4 separate regions of the Homo sapiens genome follow, and regions 2, 3 and 4 are each linked to region 1. Evidence: promoter capture Hi-C in human tissues and cell types (Jung and others, 2019). All regions are on one chromosome and are shown on one strand. Each heading gives the region's core, a stretch centred on a gene start or on the middle of the fragment in contact. The rest is flanking DNA. Distances are from core to core; before and after follow the strand shown. Region 1 holds the start of GUCA2A (guanylate cyclase activator 2A). Region 2 overlaps HIVEP3 (HIVEP zinc finger 3). Region 3 overlaps ZMYND12 (zinc finger MYND-type containing 12). Region 4 overlaps HIVEP3 (HIVEP zinc finger 3).

Region 1 (3,467 bases), core at 555-3,054:
CACATGTGCCCGGGTCCTCAGCGATTTCCTCTGCACAACAGAGATGGAGCCTCGTGAGAACCAGCATTTCCTCGCGAGGCCCCTGCCGCCCTTGGCCCAGAGCTTGTACGTCACCACCCAGCCCCAGGAGAATCTCAGCAGGCCCGTACTCTGACCTACTGGGCTTTTCGCCCCAAACCAGGGCACACAGACCACTCAAACCAACCAATCAAAGCAGAGATTCCACCAGAAAGAGAGGAAACTAAGACCAGATGAATGGTCTTAGTTCCCAAACCTCAGCAGTTACAACTTGGAATTGAAGTGGGCATGGAACAGACCCACCAATCAGAGCCAAGCTCCCTAGTTCCACCAGTCAGAGCTGAGCCCTTCCTCCAAATCCCACCAATCAGAGCACATCTCTTCCTCAAGTGCCACCACAGTATTCCCGAACCCCACCAATCAGAGAGGAAGGAGGCTGCTCACCCAGCCTCTGAAGTATCTCCTGGGCATTGGGCTCCTTGCAGAGAGGCTTGAGTTCTTCTGGAAAGTTCGGGTTGCTACAGAGGATGGGAACCACAGGTTCACCAGGGATGGGTGCAAAGTTCCTGAGTTTCCCAACCCTGGGCTCCTGGGGCTCCTGGAGGTCTTTGAGCTTCTTCACTGACTCCAGAGAAAAGGAGAAATTTCCATCCTGGAAGAGAGAAGCCCAGAGCATGAGGCCAGGCTGCAGCCTGCTTCCTGGCTGTGCCCCCCGTGCTGGCCCCGGTCCAGCCCAGTGGTGCTCACAGGCAGTGTTCGTGGCATATGGGAGCCAGGCGATCCACAGTGGGGCACTGTGAGGGGCAGAGTTCAGGCCCCACGTCCTGGCTTGGCTCCGTGATGCTGGACACTCTGGAACCCGCAAATTCTGCATGTTGTATGGGGAATGGAGAAAATGGGTGTGAAGCTCCAGGAACACCATAGGTGCCTAATGAGTAGGAGCCAGTGTGCTGATTTTTAGGGAGAGGCAAAGGACCAGCACCCAGGCATCGTAGTTCCACGTGGCCAAGCCCAGGCTGTCTTTCCCCTGCCTGAGAGCGGTGCGGCTGATTACTGGGCCCCCAGCTCCAGCCTGCAGCCTGGTTTTGGTTTGAGAAGCAATAAAAGGCCTCCCGGAATCTGGCTTTGATAGAGATCAGGGCCCCCGCTAGGTGCCAGCTTGGCCTGTCGCCAGCATTGGCACTGGTAGGCATACCCATCTGTCAGGACCTCCAGGGTGTCCATGTGGTTCCTGGGACCCACTGAGGAGTAAGGTCTGGATTTAAATCCAGCTCCTGCACTTCCCACAGCCATGTGCCCATGGCCTGTTACAGAACCTTTGTGAGGCTCAGTTTTCCCCTCTGTAAAATGGGACTAATGATCCCTTTCTTCCAGGTTGATAGTGGAGCCACAGTGAGGGGCTGGGGAAGGAGCCGGCACATAGGACACTCAGTAAATTGGCCAACTCCCCGCCTTCCCCATATGGTTATTCCTCTTCCCTCCACTGGGTTTCTTTCTCCTCCAAAGTTGAAGGGAAAGGTGTGTGTGTGGCTGGACTGAGCAGGAGCTCCTCGAAGAAGGCCAAGCCTGGGACACACACCCTCAATCCAGCCCCAAAGAGGAGGTACTCTCTCAGGGGACCAGACCTGGGCACTAGGGGCAGGGAGCCAGCTGGGCCGGGGTAGGGACACAGGACTCACCTGCACGGTGACCCCTCCTGCCAAGGCGGCCCAGGCCCCAAGGAGGCACAGTGCGGAGAGCAGGAAGGCATTCATGGCAGCAGTGCCCGAGAGAGGGGTGGCTGTTCTGGATGCCAGGGGGAAGCGGCGGGACTTTTAAAGAGGGCAGGTTACTGAGTAACCTGGAAGCCTCTGTCAGTCTCATCTGCTCACCTGTCAGGCCTTATCAGATAAGGCTCGAGACAGCCCTAGGAGATAAGAGCCAGGCAGGGGGGGCCCCGGCCCCTCCCTGAGCACCTACTTTGACCCACAGCCGGGCTGGGTCCTGCATTCATTCACCAACAAGGCACATTCACTCACGACTGCCCTGTGCTGCTGTGTGGGGCCGGCAGACCCTGCCCTTGAGGAGGGGGGCCCAGCCCGACAGTGAAACGCAGGGCGATTAGGGTGGGGTGATCCTAGGATGAGGTGACGGGGCTGCACTGGGGGCTGAGCTCTGGAGAATGGGTGGAAGTTTTCCCAGAGAAGGGACTGAGGACAGAAGGCCATTTCATGCCAAAGGGACAGCCAGGAGGTGAGACGGGCCTGGAATATTCAGGGAAATGTGAGAAATTCCACGGGGGAGGCTGCAGGGCAAGTCAGGGTCTGGGTTTGATTGCCGCGACCTCAAGGAAGCCCTCCGCACAGCCTGGGTTCCGTTCCACCTACTGCCCAGTTGTGAGGCGTGTGAACTTGGGCCAATGCTTTCCCCTCTCTGAGTCTCGTTGTCCCTTGTGTCCCCTGTGGGAACCAAAAATAATACCTACCTCATGGGGTAGGTGTGTGGTAGGCATTACTGTTTGGAGAATCAAGTGAGGTTTTAAAAACATTTAGCTCAATGCCTGGCACACAGAAGGTGCTCAGCAGAGGTCCATTCCCATATTATTAGCAGCCACAGCAGCTCCTGGTCCTCCCTGGCCCCTCTGGTGACCTCCTGCCTGTCTGAGTCACAGGCTGTCCCCATCCTGTGCTGGTCCCCATCCTGTCCTGCCTGCCCTGCAGCCTCAGGGTGTCCTCGAATGAGCTCCTCCCCAATCCGCCCGCCCCCCTTGCCCCTGCAGATACAGTCCCCTTTCCGCGGATCTCACTGGGGAATTGCTTGGGTGTGCCCGCGCCCCTATAGACTCTGACCCCATTCAGACTGCGCCCTCAGGGCAGCGTGCATTCACTGTGTGCTGTTGTGAGCAGGAATCCCCAGGACACAGGAGAAAGGGTAGCCCTGGGATTGTCATCTTTCTACTCAGCCAACCTGGCCCGATGCCAGGACAGCCCTAGGGCGGGAGGTTGGGCAGGAATTCCTGGGTGGGGAGAGTCAACACTGAAGAGGGAATTGGAGAGAGCAGGGCCTGACCAGGAGGGAACTGCAGGGACAAGGCCCTCAGGGAGGGGCAGGTAGCTCCTGGCCCAGCTCCCAGGGCAGTCCTCACAGCTGCACTGGATTTCCCACCCCTTTCTGGTGAGTGTGTGTGTGTGTGTGTGTGTGTGTGTGTTAAGGGGGGGTGTGTCTGCGGAGATGTGTATGTCTGTGTATGCCAAGGTGTCTGTATATACCCTGATGGGTGTGTGTAGCCAAGGTGTGTTTGTATGTGTGCTTGTGCTGAAGGTGTGTGTGTGCTGAGGCATGTGTGTACACTGAGGAGTGTATGTGTATATATGCTGAGGTGTATGTGTGTGTATGCTGAGGGGTATATGTGTGTCCGTGTACACCAAGGTATCTGTGTCTGTGCAAGGAGGTGTGCATATATACATCGA
Region 2 (3,578 bases), core at 933-3,432, 330 kb before region 1:
TTTAGACTTGTTAGCCTTTTTTAAAAAAAAATGTTGCCTTCATGTTCCCAGTTAAAAAAAAAAAGCTCAAGAATTCTTAACTTTCTCTTATAATTTCCTCACCTGTAAAGCGGAAAGATCTGTATGTAATTTTCAGAACAGTATAAGCATTCAATAAGTATTAGTTACTTTTATTATCATTTGCATGTACAAGGCAATCTTTCCAATTTCCCTCCTTCATTTTCCCAGAAAAAGCTAATCAAATGGGTTTATCAGCTTCCATGATCTCTGTGCATTGAATGAAGGTGAACATATTCAGGTGTGATGCACTTCATGTCAAGGTCTCATTGACCCCGTAGATTTGAATGCTGAAGTGACCATCATATCCATCACAGAAGAAGTATTTTTGTACAATTCATCAGCTGGAAGAGCTACATGGAAATACATGTCTAACTATCTCTCTGTCTACTTGTGTCTCCACAAAGTCCTGCAAGCTCCAAGATGGGAAATTTGCCTAATTCATTTCTGCCCCTTCAGTGCCCATCCCATAAGTTGGAAGTCAGTAAATGTCAACAAGTATGTGACCAATAAATGAATATTCAAACAAGGCAAAAATAAGACAGGAGAAAGGTGTTTTTATGTCCTTCAGTGGGAGAAACCTGCAAGCAATACATCTTTGGTGCCCTGATGACAGGCTATGGTGGATGCTGCGGTACTGCCCAGGTCCCCTCCAGCATGGAGCCACTCATTCTTCTGGCTGCTGGGAATGTTGTCTGCTGACAGCTCACACTTGAGTCTCTCCCAGGAATTCTGAAGGGAGCTGTGTTACCAAGGCCATACACCTTTCCCAAAAGCAGTCTTTATCCACTGACTGATCACTCGCACAGGGACAAAGACCTGGCTCCTTTGCCGCAATGTGGGACAACTCTAAAGAGCCATTTCAGCTCCAGAACTCTGTAGCATGGACTCAGGCCCTTGTTGGAATTGCATCACAGTTCAACTTTTCCCTCTCCCCCACCCTGTGTCCCTCCCACCCCAGTGAACTTCCTACACATAGATCCATCATCTCTGAGTCTGTTTCTGAGGAAGCCAACCTGTGACAGTGGGTACCAGGAGTAAGAGCTGGGAGGTGGGAGTATGTTGGCTCTTGCTGGAAGCTTCTTATCCCTACGCGTTCGTGACTCACTTTATTCATGGCTTGTCTCAAATGTACTATCTCAGAGATGACTTCTCTGGCAGTGTTGTCCAACTATTCCCAAATCATTGCTAGCATATTTCCCCATTTTGTCTCCTCCTATGCAGTCATCCACATCTGAAGTCATCTTGTTCTTTTTTTCTTATTGTTTTTTCTCACTCTCACATGAGGATGTGAACTGCAGAGGACAAATACCTTGCTATACTGCTCACTACTATCTCCAGCTTCTAAACAGCACCCAGCACCATGTAAGCTCCTAAGAAATATTTATTGAATGAATGAATGAGAATCTGCACACACATTCATAGTGGGAAGAACTGGGCTGAGAGTGGGAAACCCTCATTTCCAGCTCTGTTTCTGCCATTAACCATCTGGGTGACCTCAGGCAAGCCACCTGACTTCTCTGAGCCTCAGTTTTCTCATCTGCGGAATGAGATGGTAGAATGTGATGATCACTAGAAATTGTGACAGCTCCAGCATCCTATAATTTTACATGGTTATTCAGCTTGGAATTGTTCTGTCTATAAACTACATTCTATGGGAATCATACAGTTTTTTATGCTGAAACGGAGCTTCCCAGAGCATTTCACAATATCCAATGAGTATCGGCTTTCAGATGCCAATTTCATTATTATACCAATGCTAGAAAAACTTTCATGTGAGACGCTGCAGTTAAGGATATGTTCAACATGGGGTTCATCAAAGCTTTAGAGCACTGTGAAATAACCATTCTCCTATTTGCATAAATATCATGAGAACTAAGTCTCTTTCTCAAGTCCCACGAGGTAATGAAAAAGTGAACACTGGTTGAGGCTGCCTGTGCACCAGGCATGAGTCTGTGCTCATGGGAGGCAGTGAACACCTCACCTGGCCTGGAGCAAGCATTCAAGGAATGCTGGCTCTTAACATCTGTCTCATTTAATCCAAACAACAGTCAGTTTGAGGTGGGACTCTTAACCCCACCTTGGAGTTAAGGACACAGAAGCACTGAGATTTACCTAATCTACCCAAAGTCATCGAACTAATAAGTAAGTGATGGAGCCAGGGTTGGAATCTGGACAGTCAGGGTCTAGAGCGTTGCCATTTATCCACTACACTAGAGCTGTCTCAATTTTCTTAAAATTCAGATTCTGAATCAGAATGTTTGGGGTCAGCCTCGAGATCTGCATTTCTAACTATTTCTAGGTGATGTTGATGCTTCTAGCCTATGGCTCAGGCTTTCAGTTGTAAAAGTACAGAAGAAGGAACTCCTGCTAAAAGTCAGAAACTAGCCTCTGGTCCAGCCCTGGCAAATGCTGGCAATGAGACCATGGCTAAGTGACCTCTCCTCACAGGCTCACTCATGCCTGTGATCCCAGCCCTTTGGGAGGCCAAGGTGGGAGGATCACATAAGCCCAGGAGTTCAAGACCAGCCTGGGCAATGTGGCAAGACCCTGTCTCTACAAAAATTTTTTAAAAAATTAGCCAGGCATGGTGGTGTGCCCCTATAGTCCCAGCTACTCGGGAGGCTGAGGTGGGAGGATCACTTGAGCCTAGAACACAGAGGCTGCAGTGAGCCAAGATCATGCCACTGCACTCCAGCCTGGATGACACAGTGAGACCCAGTCTCAAAAAAACAAAAATTACTGGGTGTGTGTGAAAGCACTTTATAAACCAGAAAACTCAAAAGCAAGGGGACAGAAATTTGCTTATCCACTCGTCTTTTTCCCTCTAGGATGTGAGTCTTTGAGCCAGCACAAAGCAGTGGTGCCTGGCACATAGTAGATATTTAGTAAGTGTTCAAAGTGCCAAGTACTTTAAATGTTATGTAATTTAATCTTCACAACAATCTCTGATTCACATTTTACAGATAAGGAAACTGAGACTGCCTAATACACCCTCAAACTACTAAAGCAGTAAATGCTGAAGCCCAGATTTTAAATGAGATCTGTCTGGTTCCAAAACCAATGCTGATTTTACCCTCCACTCCCATTATTCCTCCCACATAGGGGTCTGGCTGAGGTCTAGGAATGGATCCAGATTTTGCTTCTGCACCTGTCACATGGGCACTGGGAGTCCAACTCCTTCTTAGAACAAATGAGGGCTCTGGTCTAGGGACAGATCCTACAAATGCAAGTAGAAGCTCTTCATTTTAGGGGTGGGAGAAGGCACGGAAATAATTCAGCTAAAATAAACCCTTCAAGTATTCTGCAATGAGAAGCAAAGTCAAGGTCTTCCTATTATCAGGGCCCCCAAAGCCAATCCAGAATGTACAGGTTCAACAAGTTCAAAGGAGCAAATGCCTGGAACAGTGGCTCTAAAAGTGGGGTCCACCAGGGTCTCTGGATGGCCCTGCTGACCAAAGTATTTTGTTCTTGACATTAATTTATAGCTCCAGCATTGGTAGGAAACTTAGGGGTCATGG
Region 3 (3,280 bases), core at 781-3,280, 270 kb after region 1:
TTGGCAACTGAGTCTGCCCTCATCAAAAGCACTCAGCTGTTAAAGCGCCTGGTCTGCTGAAGCCTTCCCAAGGGCACTGGTGGAAATAGCACCAATTACAGCAAGTTTTTTACCTAGAGGACTCCCTCCAGGTGCAAAGCAGGAAGCTCCGAAGCAGGAGTTTCAGACCGCTTTCCAGCTTTGCTTAGCATGCCATTATCAGAGTAGCCTAAAAATAGGCTCACTCCCACAGGTCCCAAAGTTGCTAAGGTTTCTCTCTTTCGGAGTCCTGAACTCTAGATCTCTTGGGCTTACAAACACAGATAATCTGCCACAGGCAGATTCCTTGGGTCCAACTCAGATTCCACTCTACAGCTGAGAGGAGAGAACTGGGGGAAGGGACTTCTTGCAGCTGCAGCAGCTTAACTCTTCTCGTCTAGGCCATAGATGCGTAAGCAACAACCTTCATGCTTCCCTCTGAGAGTCTGTTTACTATTTTCCCCAGTAGTTTTTGGTCCTACTTTAGTCATCATTTACTGAGAAGTCACTACATGCATTTAAAAGCACTTATACAAGTACTAAGCTTAGAGAAAAAGACGAAAAGGATATACACCATCATGTTAAGGTTGGCTATCTTTGGATATCTATGATTTCCAAGTTTTCAGCTATAACATGAACTATTTACATAATGAGAGAAAATTCAATAAAGTTATTAATTTTTTAAACTTTAGCTCAAAACCTCTCCTCCAAAGAGTCTTCCTTCTTCAACACCACCCAGCTGTCCTCACCTCTTCATTCTGGGACTCATCTTGTAACATAATTTGTACTCACAGGAATGTTCTTTTGTTATTGCCTATAGGTTCTATATCACCAACTGCACTGTATGTCTCTTTTGAGCAGAAACTAGATCCTCTGTGTCTTTTCATTGTCTCTGAGGGCATGATGCTGTACGGTACTATTCAACACTTAGCCCTTTGCTGGCCCGGGGAATACAGTTTAATCCAACTGGGCCCTGCCACTGAGAAGCTCACTGTTCAGTAAAGCATGAAGTTAAGGCACCAGAAGAAATCAGCAATGCACCTTCTGTGTAGAGTCTACCTTGGCTTACGTGTCCTGGAGCAAGAGTCCCCAACCCCCAGGCCATGGACCAGAACTGTTTTGTGGCCTGTTAGGAATCGGGCTGCACAGCAGGTGGTGAGCAGGGGTGGTAGGGGCGAGTAAAGCTTCATCTGTATTTACAGCCACTCCCCATTGCTTGCATTACCACCTGAGCTCCACCTCCTGTCAGTTCAGCAGCAGCATCAGATTCTCTTAGGAGCGTGAACCCTATTGTGAACTGTGCATGCAAAGGATCTAGGATGTACACTCCTTATGAGAATCTAATGCCTGATGATCTGTCACTGTCACCCATCACTCCCAGATGGGACCATCTAGTTGCAGGAAAACAAGCTCAGGGCTCCCACTGATTCTACATTATGATGCATGGTATAATTATTTCATTATATATTACAATATATTAATAATAATAAAAACATAGTACACAATAAATGTAATGCACTTGAATTCTCCTGAAACCATTCCTCCCACGCCCCCCAGTCCATGGAAAAATTGTCTTCCATGAAACGGGTCCCTGGTGCCAGGGAGAGATTGGGACTGCTGCCCTGGAGGGATAACATAGAAATGGATGCTCTGCAGAAATCACAGGGGGCTTTGATGTGGTCTTTTTTTCCCTCTAAATCTGTCCCTTAGTAACCCCCGAATGGCTATGTGTGATGATAGGGATCTGAATTCTTCCCAACACTGGTAAAATCTCTTTGATCCCCGTGTCTCAGTTTTCTCCATCAGCAACATGGGGAAGGTGGCAATGGTGTGCTTCATGACAGGGACAGCTGCTTTCCCTCTTAGGGACAAGGTCTGTGTATTGGGTGAGATGAAGTCACTGCTCTCCCTTCAGGGAAAACTGCCACTTACCCAAGCCAGTGTCATTCTCAAATAGTTTGCCCAGTAAATCCATTTGTTGGATGTGAGCCTGTGAGAGGACTTGATAGTGATTGTTCAAATATGCATGCCAGATCTCAGAGACCTGTTGGGAAAAGAGATGGTAATACAACAAGCAGGCCAGACCTCAGCCGTCGGACCAGGCAGGTGAGGAGAGTAGCGCATTTGGCCGGGCTTCTGGACAACCTGGAGGTTCTCTCTCTTACTGTGCCTGGAGGCAGAGGGAACCCTAGGAGCCCAAACAGGCCTGGCCAAGGTAAGTGTGACAAGTGATGGGCTGAAAAGGGCCTGTGGCAGCTCATCTTGGGGTAGCCCTAGTGGGGTCTAATAACAGTGGTTATCTTTTGTATAGCACACACAACACGAAACCTTCACATCCTCACAACATCCTGATGTAATATTCTTATTATTCCCATTTTACATGTAAATAAACCGAGGCTCAGAGAAGATCACACACGACTTCTGGTAAGAGCTGTTAAGTGGCATAGCCAGAATTTAAACCCTGGTCTATCTGATTCTAAAGCTTTTAAACTACAGCAAAATGCCTCTTTCTCAGAAGCAGGTCTAAAACATGAATCAACAATCAGCAGAAAGCCTGTATTACACATTTATTACACAAATGATTGCCTGCTAAGTGAGGTGTTACTATATGGATACAGCTGACATTTTAATATATTGGAAACAGTTTAAAATATTTTACATGTAAATATGGAAATTTCTCATGTTCTTGGATCCCTTGACAGGATCTTGTAGCAACAGACTTCCCTTGGAAATCTCCTTCTCTATCGCACACTTCAATAAGCCCACATTAGCTTGCTGCTATGGGTATGACACAGCATACAACAGTCTATCTGAAGGGGTTTGGCTCTTACTGACCTGTCCTTCATTATTCGTTAATCACCCTACGGATGTTAAGGGTTAGTCTATTTTGGTAGTGGAGACACTGGAAGAAAGAAAATGGAGTATATCATGTATCAGGCTATATAGTCTTGGGCAAGCCACTTCATCTCTCTGTGCCTCTCTTTCTCATGAATGGTATGTTTTTCATGAATAGTCTAATACAAGTTGTAAGACACCAAGCCTAAGAGTGAAGGCTCAGCTCCCACATTCCCCAGCTCACCTTGGTGTACAATGTGTCTGCCAGGTCCAACTTTTTAAGGTCATAGAATATATTAGCCAGGTGGAAGTAGCCTCCTGAAGTCCTAATGTCCTCTGTTCCAAATGCACAACTGGCAAAATAAATCTATAGCAGAAGGAAGAAGGAGAGTGCTTGAGTTCCTTTTGCAAATCATATATCTGATAA
Region 4 (3,407 bases), core at 749-3,248, 310 kb before region 1:
CCTCCAAACACACAAAGATGTCAGTGCCACAGACCATACTTTCTCTCACACATCCAGTCAAAGCACCAGGAGGGGACAGAGTCACCACAGTGCAAGTCTCAGCTGGGATTGGGCAGGGGAGAGGAGAAGGGCATCAAGGAGCTGACCAGGAGACACACTGATCTGGCCAGGCAGCCTCTTGCAGAAGTGGATCCCGTTAACAATGAAACAGATATGACATGAACTTGGCAACTTCTGAGAACAGGAATGTCTAGTGGTGCTTCTAGCCTAAAGTGACCCAGTTTCAGATAAGACAGTTTAATCCAGAACTCAGAGGGAGAAAAGATTAATATTTTCTCCTAGGGAAGGATACCCAGAGCTACCACAGCTGAAATGGGAATAACATGCTTAAAGGTGGATATGAGATGGCCAAAGTCCCATGAGGAATGGCCTCCAGGTATGATGATGAAATCCAGTGCAGGAGGGAAGGTCTCTTCTCATAGTATCCAATTGCAAAACTGGTCAAAATTCAACCATTTTCTCAGGGTTATTCTAAAAGCTGTTGGACTTGTACTGCTTCTTTGGCTTCTCTGGCTCTTGTTCCAGCTTTTGCAGTTACAAAATGAGAAAGACCTCGCTGTGCTGTCCTCCATTCAGTGGGTTCTGGATGGATTGCCAGATGATGTGAAGGGCTCTTGGTCATGGCTGGTACCTGCAAACACGGAGAGTGCTTATCACCATTGGACTCTACTGTGCCATTTCCATCATGTCAATCATGGATAGACATGAGATAAGGAGGATGGAATCGGCAGTGGGCAGGACACAATAGGAAGCGAGGGAGGGGAGAGGGCAACAGGGTGGAAGGGTAGAGAGAATTGCAGGAAGAAGGAGGGACCCAGGAATGGCCCAACATCCTCAGAGATGAAAGATTACAGAAAGAGGGCAGAAGGCGAGAGCAGAGAGGCCATGCCAGCTTGGGCTGGAGCAGTCAGATTCCTCACCACACCCTTGTCCCTGCTGTGCCCATCTGCTGCCCTTTCTTTGCCTTCTGGCCCTGTAGGAGCCATCCCAGCCCCACATCCCAAGCCCTACCTGTGACTACCCCTCCCCTAAGCCCTACCAGAGAAATGAACTTACTTCTACCCTTCGTGGGCCGCATGCCTCCAGCTCCAGCTCTTCTTGGGGCTCCAGAGTGTGCCAGTTTCCCTTCAAGCACCAGTGTCCTCAACCTCTGGCATGGTATTGGAATCTGTGCCTTCAGAACCTCCTTTCTTCCCATTCTTCAGGACGTTTGTCCCTCGACTGGACAAGATCCAGCAGGAGTGGGCAACACAGGAACAAATCCGAGACACCAGACTGAGAGGGACAGGAAGGGGAAACACGGGGCAGTCCTGGGTGATCTGGACCATCTGGTCACCTCATTCTAGTTCACGAGTGGACATTTAGATAAGGGAAACCAAACTGAATCAGAACTCTAAACTCAGTGTGCAGCAGGGTCACCAGATTGCTTATTCTATGGCACCTGAGACCTTTCATCACCACTGATCTTCACGACAGATGCACGCAGATATATCTACCAAGGACTTAGAAACCCAAGACAGTTTCATACTTTAAAAATGTGTGGAAACTAACCATGCACAAACTTCTCCAATTACATCAGTCTCCCCAGAAGCACATCCAACAGCACTCTGTCACAACTTCTGGAAGCAGCCTGCCTCCTTGCTAACCCCTCCTCCATGCAGATGCTCACCTAGAGGAGTGGATGGGACATAATACCAAGGAGGAGAGTGTGGGTCCAGTCCTAGCACAGGCCAGGAACATTTTCTGCTTTAGAGTCACAGGACTGTTCACCAAGCCAAGCTGAATAAACATCTTATTGCAATATTTGCACAGACATGCAACTACTTGCTGTGACCATGACAGTGACTGGAATGTAAGGATCCATCAGTGGTAGACCCAAATCTTTTTTTTTTTTTTTTCCAAGTCTTGCCCTGTCGCCCAGGCTGGAGTGCAATGGCGCAATCTCGGCTCACTGCAACCTCTGCCTCCTGGGTTCAAGCAATTCTCCTGCCTCACCCTCCCGAGTATCTGGGACTACAGGCATGCACCACCATGCCCAGCTAATTTTTGTATTTTTAGTAGACATGGGGTTTCACCATGTTGGCCAGGCTGGTCTCAAACTCCTGACCTTGGGATCCACCCACCTTGGCCTCCTAAAGTGCTGGGATTACAGGCATGAGACACCACGCCTGGCCGGTAGACCCAAATCTTAAAGCACATACTCTACTCTAGTGGTTCCTAAACTTTAGCATGCATCAGAATCATTTGTAGACTTTGTTAAAACACAGAGTTTTGGTTACACTCCTACGGTTTTTTAATCAGTAGGTCTGGGGTGGAGGCTGACAGCTAGAGTTTCTAACAAGTTCCCAAGCCCAGCTATTGCTGGTCCAGAGACCACACTTTGAGAACCACTGGTCTACCACCAACAGTGTTCAATAGTATCACCTGTCTTATATCAAAGGAACCACTAATGACTCACTCGCACTCAGCCCTGTAACCTCATCCAAAGCAGAGGCACAGAAAAGGCCACCACACACACAAAGAAAAACTGTTTACAAAATGTTTTTATTTTAAGGTTAAGAATAAAAGGAGCCTTAGGGTTCATATAATCTAACTACCTCACTTAATATAATATTAATTAAACTAAGCTTAGAGAGGGTAACTTGCACACAGAAACAATGAAACAATCAATAGAACCCAAACCAGGAACCCCAGCAGCACTACTCTCAAAATCGCAAACGTGGAGTCCTAGAAAATCTCCTAATTTTTGTCGTCATTAGAGTCACAAGGCTCAAGAGTCTGCAACTGGCAAATTAGGGCTTCCCCTTCTGGTCCTCCATGCCGAAGCACTCAGGCCATGCCATGGTCATTTCTTAGTAAGGCTATGATGGAAGCAATTCTTGGTTCCCTCCAAGTTCAACTGTGAGTCCACTGCCTAGAACTCAGAACTGGTTTTCTCAGAAATCCCATAGCACACGTGGAGGGTTCCTGGGAGAACTCTTCCTACTAGGCACCACATTGTTGAACTGCAGTGATGATAGCCCACAGGATCTAACCATCATGAAGAATATAATTTCCTAAAATTCCATTCTGAGTTTCAACTTGGACCTGTGCTGGTCCCTCTTCCTGGAAAACTGCTGCCCCAGTTTTCTCATGTCAGGCTCCTTCTGTATGTTTCCTCTTGCAGAGTATCTCCTGATCATCTACCCAAGTAGTTCTCACTCCCCTCCTGCCAGTTACACTGCATCTCATCAGCCTTCTCTACACTCCTTATAGCCCTAGAACTATATAAAACATTTGTTCATCATCTACTTGCTCATTACCCCCTGAAAGTAGGATGTGAGCTTCGAGAGGGCAGGAACTTTACC

The links. Contacts are between HindIII fragments. The study calls those that stand out against the background at their distance.
Region 2: a fragment that was not itself captured here is called in contact with the fragment with the promoter of GUCA2A in region 1 in 1 of the 25 tissues and cell types used here (dorsolateral prefrontal cortex).
Region 3: a contact is called between a fragment that was not itself captured here and the fragment with the promoter of GUCA2A in region 1, in 2 of the 25 tissues and cell types used here (aorta and dorsolateral prefrontal cortex).
Region 4: a contact is called between a fragment that was not itself captured here and the fragment with the promoter of GUCA2A in region 1, in 2 of the 25 tissues and cell types used here (dorsolateral prefrontal cortex and lymphoblastoid cells).

Annotation. Positions count from the first base shown.
Region 1 is chr1:42,162,941-42,166,407 of GRCh38, forward strand. GUCA2A (guanylate cyclase activator 2A) reads right to left here and starts at 1,805. Exons shown (of 3, transcript NM_033553.3): 1 at 1,698-1,805; 2 at 463-670; 3 at 1-30. The coding sequence starts at 1,772. RefSeq lists an enhancer at 1,665-2,629. The HindIII fragment of the contact is 10,088 bases long and covers 1-3,467 here.
Region 2 is chr1:41,829,748-41,833,325 of GRCh38, forward strand. The region is part of intron 1 of HIVEP3 (HIVEP zinc finger 3); the gene reads right to left. Among named protein-coding and RNA genes, the nearest start is that of HIVEP3, 87 kb to the right of the region's middle. The HindIII fragment of the contact is 4,895 bases long and covers 1-3,578 here.
Region 3 is chr1:42,433,324-42,436,603 of GRCh38, forward strand. It overlaps ZMYND12 (zinc finger MYND-type containing 12), which reads right to left. Exons shown (of 8, transcript NM_032257.5): 5 at 3,098-3,220; 6 at 1,951-2,062. Among named protein-coding and RNA genes, the nearest start is that of ZMYND12, 21 kb to the right of the region's middle. The HindIII fragment of the contact is 6,264 bases long and covers 1-3,280 here.
Region 4 is chr1:41,847,755-41,851,161 of GRCh38, forward strand. All of the region lies in intron 1 of HIVEP3 (HIVEP zinc finger 3), which reads right to left. Among named protein-coding and RNA genes, the nearest start is that of HIVEP3, 69 kb to the right of the region's middle. The HindIII fragment of the contact is 7,187 bases long and covers 1-3,407 here.